Regions from separate parts of the Homo sapiens genome. Here all the other regions are linked to region 3. Evidence: promoter capture Hi-C in 16 types of primary human blood cells and fetal thymus (Javierre and others, 2016). All regions are on one chromosome and are shown on one strand. Each heading gives the region's core, a stretch centred on a gene start or on the middle of the fragment in contact. The rest is flanking DNA. Distances are from core to core; before and after follow the strand shown. Region 1 overlaps ABCA5 (ATP binding cassette subfamily A member 5). Region 2 overlaps PITPNC1 (phosphatidylinositol transfer protein cytoplasmic 1). Region 3 holds the start of SLC16A6 (solute carrier family 16 member 6).

The links. Contacts are between HindIII fragments. The CHiCAGO score rates a contact against its expected background, and 5 or more counts as called.
Region 1: a contact is called between a fragment that was not itself captured here and the fragment with the promoter of SLC16A6 in region 3, in 1 of 17 cell types (erythroblasts). The highest score is 5.6, in erythroblasts.
Region 2: a contact is called between a fragment that was not itself captured here and the fragment with the promoter of SLC16A6 in region 3, in 1 of 17 cell types (non-activated CD4 T cells). The highest score is 6.3, in non-activated CD4 T cells.

Annotation. Positions count from the first base shown.
Region 1 is chr17:69,263,559-69,266,754 of GRCh38, reverse strand. ABCA5 (ATP binding cassette subfamily A member 5) reads left to right here. Exons shown (of 39, transcript NM_172232.4): 24 at 1,850-2,020. Among named protein-coding and RNA genes, the nearest start is that of PRO1804, 30 kb to the right of the region's middle. The HindIII fragment of the contact is 492 bases long and covers 1,367-1,858 here.
Region 2 is chr17:67,449,497-67,452,722 of GRCh38, reverse strand. All of the region lies in intron 1 of PITPNC1 (phosphatidylinositol transfer protein cytoplasmic 1), which reads right to left. Among named protein-coding and RNA genes, the nearest start is that of MIR548AA2, 20 kb to the left of the region's middle. The HindIII fragment of the contact is 3,703 bases long and covers 1-3,226 here.
Region 3 is chr17:68,289,502-68,292,696 of GRCh38, reverse strand. SLC16A6 (solute carrier family 16 member 6) reads left to right here and starts at 1,570. Exons shown (of 6, transcript NM_004694.5): 1 at 1,570-1,611. ARSG (arylsulfatase G) reads right to left here and starts at 1,202. Exons shown (of 12, transcript NM_001267727.2): 1 at 1,129-1,202. RefSeq lists an enhancer at 115-344 and silencers at 1,204-1,378, 745-1,434. The HindIII fragment of the contact is 8,812 bases long and covers 1-3,195 here.

The sequences.
Region 1 (3,196 bases), core at 363-2,862, 970 kb before region 3:
AGTAATGTATAAATTATAGAAAAGTATAAGGAATATAGAAATCCATAACCCACTGCACAATAATAAAATTTACTGGACATTTGCATTTTCTTTCTTGTTTCAACTGAAACATTTTTTTTCCAATATAAATTTTTTATTTTTATTTATTTATTTTTTAATTTTTTTATTTATATATATATATATTTTTATTATACTTTAAGTTTTAGGGTACATGTGCACATTGTGCAGGTTAGTTACATATGTATACATGTGCCATGCTGGTGCACTGCACCCACTAACTTATTTTTAATTAAAGTTTCTATTTTGAGATAGTTGTATATTCATGTTTGTTTGTTAGAAATGACAGAGAGATCCTGTGTACTCTTTACATTTTGTCCCAATAATAACATCTCGTAAAATTATAGTACAATGTAACAGGGTATTGGCATTGACACAGTCAAGATACAGAACATTTCTGTCACCAAAAAGATTCCCATTTTTTGCTCTTTCCTAGCCTCTCTGACCTGTGGCAACCACTACTCTGTTCTCTATTTCTGTAATTTTGATAGTTCAAAAATGTAAAATGGCATCACAATAAGTTTTCTTTTGGGATTGGCTTTTTTCAAATAGCATTTTTTTTGAAGTTCATCCTATTTGTATTTATCAATAATCCATTCCTTTTCATTGCTGAGTAATATTCCATGGTATGGATACATCACACTTTCTCTAACCATTTGCCTGTTGAAGAACATTTGGATTGTTTTCCGTTTTTGGCTTTTGTAAAGTTGCTGTGGACATTTGCATACAGGTTTTGTGTAAACATCATTTTCATTTCTCTGAGATAAATGCCCAAGAGTGCAATTGCTGAATTATACATGTTAATTTTATAAGAAATTGCCAAATTATTTTCCAAGATGAGTGTTCCATTTTATGTTATCCCTACCAGCAGTGTGTGAATGACAAAAGTTTGAATTATCCAAAATAATTGCATTTGCCTTAGCTTATGTTTTTATTCTTGTATTAGAATTTACATGTGTCTCATGTTCTCATAATTCATTGAACAGAAAACTTGCCAATTTTGTTCATTTCTCCTCTTCTTAACTAATCTTTATATTTCATGCTTCCTTTATCTCTGTGGACAGCTCTTTCATATAATACCTTCAGTTATTAGGAGTAGATATTTTTATAGATGACAAAAATCAACTAAATAAAATTGTTAGGTATTTGGATTTATGAAATATTTTAGAAATTTCAAATTAAATGAGAACATGAGATAGGAAAACTATGATCATTTGAGTTTACCATTAACAAACTTGTGACGTAAATAACACCTTAGATTTATATGCTATACCAGTGTACACAAAAGGCTTTGAACATTTCAAAAGCTTTCACTTAAGCTGAAAGCCTTATGTAAATCCAAAGGATACTTGGCAATTTATTAGTGTTTTTATTTATGAAAGGTTCATTTTTAAAACTGAGAATTCTTTTTCTGTGTAAACATGTCTTCCCATCTGTTTCCACAGTATTTCAAAAGTAGTAATGTTTTGGCTATTTATTATTTGTATAGCTGTAACCCCAACCGCCATGACACCTTTTGCTTTATTTTAATCTCAGTTTCTTGGCAGCACTACTGTATTCTGATTCTTAAAAATTTTGTTGAAATTGTTACATCTCAGAAATAATGAGCCAAATTAAAGGCTAAATGGAATTTGTATTTAGTGTGAGGGGGACTTTTATTACCTATAAGCCTGGAATGTAACCTTTTTGGTTTTGCTGATGTAAAATTAAGAGATCTACAATAATTTACTAATTTATTTGTGTGTTTCTAAAGTGTCTAAAATTATAATAAATTGTTTTTCATTTTTTTTAGATCAAAGCTTATACTCAACTTAAACTTTCAGGTCTTTTGCCATCTGCATATTGGATTGGACAAGCTGTTGTTGATATCCCCTTATTTTTTATCATTCTTATTTTGATGCTAGGAAGCTTATTGGCATTTCATTATGGATTATATTTTTATACTGTAAAGTTCCTTGCTGTGGTAAGTTAACGTTAGTTGTACTCATGCTATTTATAGATAGAATGTTATTTAAAATCTGTTATAAACATGACAGTTGACTTATTGCATAATTTGGTTATTAATTTGTTAAAGAAAATAGAGCAAGTGTGTCTGGTATTTAATACATGTAATCATTTTATATGATAAGTGACTTTTAAAAACAATAACTTACCACCATTTTAAAATAATTTCTTGAAACTAAAGTGATCTTTCATGTAGACCACCTACTTGGGTGTAATCAGGAACGTTTTAATATATTCCTTCCTTAAAATGCCTTCCTTCGTTTTTCTTATGCCTGAAAATAATTTCACAAAGGATAAGCTCTTTTATTCCATAGTTTAAAATATAGCTTAACATTTCTCTATCTCAATAATGGGCAGGCTGCGAGCCAGATGAAGAACACAACTCCATTTACAATAGCCACAAAAAATTAAAATACCTAGGAATACATCTAACAGAGGAGATGAAAGATCTCTACAGGGAGAACTACAAAACATTGGTGAAGGAATTCAGAGATGATACAAGCAAATGGAAAAAAATTTCATGCTCATGGATTAGAAGACTCAATATATTAAAGTGGCCATACTGCCCAAAGCAATCTACAGATTCAACACTATTCCTATCAAACTACCAACATTATTCATCACAGAATTTTAAAAAGCTATTCTAAAATTCATATGGAACCCCAAAAGTACCCAGATGGCTAAAGGAATCCTACATAAGCTGGGCGCGGGGGCTCATGCCTATAATCCCAGCACTCTGGGAGACCGAGACGGGTGGATCACGAGGTCAAGAGATCAAGACCATCCTGGTCAACATAGTGAAACACCATCTCTACTAGAAATACAAAAAAATAGCTGGACGTGGTGGCATGCGCCTGTAGTCCCAGCTACTCAGGAGGCTGAGGCAGGAGAATCGCTTGAACCGGGGAGGTAGAGGTTGTGTTGAGCCAAGATCGTGCTACTGCACTCAAGCCTGGGCAACAGAGAGAGACTTTTTATCAAAAAAAAAAAAAAAAAGGAATCCATGTAAAAAGAACAAAGCCAGAGGCATTTCATTACCTGACTTCAAACTATACTATAAAGGCTCCAGTGACCAAAACAGCATGGTATTGGTACAAAAACAGACATGTAGACCGATGAAACAGAATGGAGGACC
Region 2 (3,226 bases), core at 265-2,764, 840 kb after region 3:
TGAGGAGTTCGTGACCATCCTGGCCAACATGGTGAAACCCTGTCTCTACTAAAAATACAAAAATTAGCTGGGCGTGGTGGCGCACGCCTGTAGTCCCAGCTACTTGGGAGGCTGAGGCAGGTGAATCACTTGAACCCAGGAGGAGGAGGTTGCAGTGACTCCAGCCTGGCGACAGAGTGAGACTCCATCTCAAAAAAAAAAAAAAACCCCAGCAATTCCACTCCTTAAAGTATCTTCCCAAGAGGAACGAAAGCACATGTCCATCCAAGAATTGTATACAAATGATCACAGCAGCAATATTCACAGTAGCCCCGAATTAGAAACAAATCTCTATCAACTGGTGATGAATAAACAAAATGTGGTACATCCCTATAATGGAATGCTATTAGCAGTAAAACAAGAACCAGCTATTGGCCAGGCATGATGGCTCCCGCCTGTAGTCCCAGCACTTTGGGAGGCTGAGGCAGGCAGACTGCTTGAGCTCAGGAGTTCGAGACTAGCCTGGGAAACATAGTGAGACCCCCGTCTATACAAAACAAAAATACAAAAATTAGCCAGGTGTGGTGGCATGTGCCTGTAGTCCCAGCTACTCAGGAGGATGACGTTGGGAGGATCACTTGAGCCCAGGAGGTGGAGGCTGCAGTGAACTGTGATTGCACTCTAGCCTGGGTGATCACAGTGAGACCCTATCTCAAAAAACAACAACAAAAAAAAAACCCAACCACTGATGCATTCAACAACACGAATGAACTCAAAAACTTTATGTTGAGTAAAAGAAGCCAGTCTCGGCCAGGCGTGGTGGCTCAGGCCTGTAATCCCAGCACTTTGGGAGGCCGAGGTGTGCGGATCACGAGGTCAGGAGATTGAGACCATCCTGGCTAGCATGGTGAAACTCCATCTCTACTAAAAATACAAAAATTAGCCAGGCGTGATGTGGGCACCTGTAGTGCCCGCTACCCTGGAGGCTGAGGCAGGAGAATGGCATGAACCCGGGAGGCGGAGATTGCAGTGAGCCGAGATCGCGCCACTGCACTCCAGCCTGGGCGACAGAGCGAGACTCTGTCTCAAAAAAAAACAAAACAAAAAAAAAAAAGGTCAGTCTCAAAGGACTACATGTTGTATAATTTTTATACGAAATTACTAGAAAAGACAAAACTATAGAGACGTAAATCACATCACTAGTTGCCGGGGATCAGGGTAAGAGCAAGAACTGACCACAAACAGGCAAGGAGGATGTTTAGGGGGGAATGGAAAGTTCTAAAACTGGACTGCGGTGATGGCTGCACAGATGTATGGATTTACTAAAACTTAAGAGCTTTTGTTGTTTTACTGAAACTTATTCATTTTACACTTAAGATAGGTGAGTTTATCATGTGCAAAAAAGAATTTTTAGCCAGGCACGGTGGCTCACACCTGTAATCTTAGCAGTCTGGGAGGCCAAGGTGGGTGGATCACCTGAGGTCAGGAGATCGAGACCAGCCTGGTCAACATGGCAAAACCCCGTCTCTACTAAAAATACAAATATTAGCTGGGTGTGATGGCGCGCGCGTGTAGTCCCAGCTACTCAGGAGGCTGAGGCAGGAGAATTGCTTGAACCCAGGAGGCGGAAGTTGCAGTGAGCCAAGATCGTGCCACTGCACTCCAGCCTGAGTGACAAGAGTGAAACTCTGTCTCAAAAAAAGGAAAAGAAATTAGATTCTGATATGGGCTACAGCTGAACCTTGAAAACATGCTAAGAAAAAGACGCCAGATACAGAAGAACACATAATATTGATTCTACTTTTATGAGGTACCTAGAATAGGCCAATTCATAGAGGCAGAACATAGGATAAAGGTTACCAGAGGGTGGGGGAAGGGGACATTGGGGAGTTAGTGTTTAATGGGTGGAATTTCTATTTGGAATGATGAAAAAGTTCTGAAAGTGAACAGTGATGATGGTTGCCCAGCATTGTGAAAATACTTAATGCCACTAAATTGTACAATTTACAATGCTTAAAATGGGCCGAGCATGGTGGCTCACACCTTCCCAGCACTCTGGGAGTCTGATGCGGGTGGATCACTTGAGCCCAGGAATTTGAGACCAGCCTGGGCAACACAGCGAAAATCTCGTCTCTACTAAAACTACAACAAATTAGTGGGCACGGTGGTGTGCGCCTGTAGTCCCAGCTACTCGAGAGGCTGAGGTGGGAGGATCGCTTGAGCCGGAGAGGGTGAGGCTGCAGTGAATTGTGATCACACCACTGCACTCCAGCCTGGGTGACAGAGCAAGGCTTCGTCTTCAAAAAAAAGAAACTTAAAATGGTAAATTTTTATCTTATACGTATTTTACTACAGCTTTTTTTTTTTTAACGAAGTCTCCCGTGCACCTTCAGGAGGAAGAGGGGCCTGTGACTTGCCTGTGGGCTCACTTTCAGGTGGCTATTTCTTCATCAGTTGAGTTCTTAACTGTCTCTAATTGATAGCAATTGAAGAAAACGCAGTTTGCATTCACACAGCCCATTGTCCAAATGCCTAAAGACATTAATTTGAAAAATACTGCAAGATTCATGAAACTGATTCTAAATTTACTTCTAAATCATAAGAGCAAACCTGAAATGTGGTTTTAATTGGGTTTACAGGAAGTATAAGTGTTGTTTATGTGACTTGTTCTTCTGTTTAACTGTTGGTAATCACTGGCTACTGCGCTTATCTCATTGCCAGACAGACAAGCAGTTAAGTAATTAAAATATTCAAAATCTGGCTCAGTGGCTCACCCCTGTAATTCCAACATTTTGGGAGGCCAAGGCAGAAGGATCGCTTGAGGCCAAGAGTTCAAGACCAGCCTGAGCAACATAGTGAGACCCCCATCTCTGCAAAAAGAATTTTTTTAAAATCTGAGCTAACAGAAAAAGAGTTTGTTTCCAATGCTTTCATTTTAACACTAACTGTGATAGAGGCATCAAAGAATTAACCTTTTAAAAGATAAATTAGCTTTCGTATTTGACTGTTTGGACAGCTAGCTGTATATGACAACTTTTTGTCCTTTTTCTCCACCCCAAAACAGAGAAACTTGTTGAGTTTCAATTCTCCGAGATGTCTAGATTCTAACGTTGAAGTTCTCATACAAGCAAAACCTCCCAGCAATGGTACATGTCTTGTCAAGGTAAAGACAGAAGATTTTTTTCTTTGCTATCTGTCAAGAAAATAAAAGGGTGTGCCTATTACTTTAAGTAACATTTTCTTTTTC
Region 3 (3,195 bases), core at 321-2,820:
GGATTTTTATTAAAATTCAGATCGCCGACTCCTCCCGGTGGCGACCCTCCGTGCATGCACTCCCAAACTAGGCTCTCTTGAGTTTCTGACATCAGAACCACATTCTCCGAACCCCAATGAAGGCAGCAGCCGGCGCCAAAGTCTGCATACGAATGCAAATAACATGGCCTTTGCTTCCGAGCAGTTTCCAAATTTGCCCTCGGGATGTGAGGTAGAGACCAAGAAGCTAAGTTTGCGCCCCCGCAGGCTCTGAAATGTCTAGGATCTGACACATGCTTTGTCCCCATGAGGAGCTCCTGAGATTTCGCGTGCATCATCCGCTTAGTTCACGGTGACCTTGGGGTCGGGGACTACGGGATGAGGGGCACGGACTGTCTAAACCTCCAGGTCCCTTACAGAGGGCTCCCCGCGGGTATGGGAGCCATGCACCTGTGCCGACGCCGCCACTGCCTGGAGGGTGCGCGCGCGCCCCGGGCCGGGGATGCTGACTCAGCCCGGCTGCTCACATTCCTTTCGCGCAACGCGGATGCTGTTGCTGCCGCTGCTGCCGGTGCAGCAAAGTGGGGGAAGCAAGGCACCCGCAGCGGCCCGGCCGCTCGCTCCCTGGGGCCCACTGCGACACTCCCTCCCCACTGCCGGAAGGGGAACTGTGGGGGTGCGCGAGTTGACGAAACTGGGGGAAGTGGGCGCTGCAGGAGGAACTCAGGCGCCGCGCGCGCAGCTCACACCCAAACTGGAAGGAACCTGTTCTGCCCGGGGCGGGCGCGAAGCCGCCGCAGCCGCGAGCGCCGCGCGGGATCAGCCCCGGCGCGCGCGTGTTCCCCCTCGCCGCTAAATCCCTAAATCCTCAGGGCGCGGGCGGGACTGGGCGGTGGGCGCGCCGGGAAGGCGCCCGGGGGTGGGGACGGGGACCCGCGCGCTCGCGCCTGGCCGAGGTGCTCCGAGACAGGATGCAGGCACCCCCAACACCCTGCACGCTCGCGCTCCTACTAGCGTTGCAGCAAAGCTCCGGGGTCTGGGCGGGTCACGCGCGCAGAGGCGCACCCGGGTTGGGAGATCGGGGCGTTGTGCCAAGGACCCCGGCGGCGCTGGCGGGGGCGGCCCGGCCCCGGACCGCGACGCGGTTACCTTTCGTGACCCCCAGCCCAGGCGGCAGGCTGGCGGGCGCGCGACCGGCGCGGCTCAGGTCCACGTGGGACGGCGCGCGCGCGCCAGGCAGGCCCCCTCCTTGGCTGCGCTCAGCGCTCGCAGCACATGGTCGGCGGCGGCGCGCCCCCGAGGCCGGCGGAGACCGGCTGCAGCCGGTATAGGATAAGAGCTAGGCAGCGACGCGGGGCCGGGGCGCGGGCGGCAGCACGCACGGCCCGGGTCGCAGGCGGCCGGGGTGGGGGGCGGGGGGAGGGTGTGGCTCGGGTGCCCGAGTCGCGGGAGTGGGTGGAGGGCCCGGGCGCTCGGGCCTCACCAGCCCGAGCCAACTTGCGCTAGAGTCGGGCCCGCCCCCTAAGGGGTTAATCCTTTTCTCATGTTACCGAGCGGCTTATAAGGAGGGGGAGGCCAAGCCTCCGCCTTATTGGGAGCCTTTGGGGGTTTATTCTCTTCCCTTCTAACTTGGTGAGTTGGTTTATTATTTTACATGTTTAAAAGTTTGATTGTGGGATGTGGGTTGTTTTTTAAAAAATATGTGTTGGGGCCTTTTTTTGTGATGGGAGGCGGAGGAGACCACTGAACATCTTCACATTTTGGAGAGGTTATTCCCAAAAATATTCGCTCTGACAGTTAGGAATGCCCAGGGCCACCGGGATGACGCGCTCGCGCCGGTGTGGGTAGCTGAGAGTTGAATGTCCGTGACCCTGGTACAGTTGGGTCCCGGAAGATACCTAAAGGCACGCCTGGCCTTTGAGTGCCCCCTGCCCCGGGTTGGGGGCTCCGGGACGTCGGAAGAGTCGGGGGCTCCAGGCTCAGCCCCTCCGCGGATTTTCCGCATGAAGTTGCCTGCGCGTCGCAGGAGCGAAATGTCAGAGGTACCTTCCTACCCCAGGCTGGCGCGCGCACGCAGGCCGGGCACTGAGGCAGCGCGAGGGAAAGTGGGGCTCCCTGCCTCCCCCGACCCCCAAACACAGCACTCCCTGCGGCGGCCACCGTTTGTCCCCAGCGGGAAGCCGGGGATTTCCCGGCAGAGCGCGGGTCCTCCACCTGGACTGTCAGAACTGTCAGCGGCTGACGGCCGGTCCCGCGCAACTTCAAGGTTCCCGGGCTGCCAACCGCAGGAAAGCGCTGGTGTCGCCAAGCAGTTCCGTAGCAAGGGAAGATGGTTTTGCAGAGGAAATGGGTTATTTCCTTCTAGGTTGTTGTCGTCTTTTCTTTTTATTCCCCCCACCCTAGCAAGACAGGTCATAGAAGTTTGTTAGGTGGCGTATATAAAATGTCACCAAACATGGGGGGCGTCAGTCTTAGAAAAAGCTCCCCGGAGCCAACTGGGGAAGAGCAATTACAACTTGTCAACCTGGAAGCCGGTTTTGTTTGCACGGTTAGACACTCCGTGCCAGCTCCTTCTCGCAGGAGATGGTTTCTACCCCGGGAATGAGATTTCTCAGTGATCTGATTGTTTTTGCAAATCATGGTAAGATAGGTGTCTTGCTTGTAAAAAAGATGCCAAGTGCTTATGCTGAAATCTCTAAACCATGCATCTCCCCATGTCCCAAGCACCGTTATGTGGCATTTTTGGGGTCAACAATACATCCGGCCAGATGATATAATAGAAACCCCTCTTCTCATAATTAAGGGAAGAGTGTCCAAAATAGGAACTTACAGTGTGTAAATAAACAATGCAGCCAAGTGGAAAAGCTCCTTCCAGTGTAATGAGTACCACTAACCCTGAGTTTTCCTTCTGTGGTTTCCGAAAAAGGACTTTCCTCAGTGGAACTCCTGAGGAGGACACTTAAATTAGGGGCTCAGGTTTCAACACCATAGTCTTGTAAAATGGTGACTCGGTTGTAGCCAGTGATTCAACATCGTGAGGCAGCTATCCAGGTTAGGTTTGGAAATTTTTTTTAAATAGAGAATGCAGATGAACTTTAGCCAAATACAGACTGGTTTTGACAACTTGGGCCAGAAACAACTTGTCAAAGCTGTTCTCCGGGCTACGCCTTTAAGAAGAAGAGAAATCCGCAGTGCTTTTGCTCGAGGTCTGCCTAC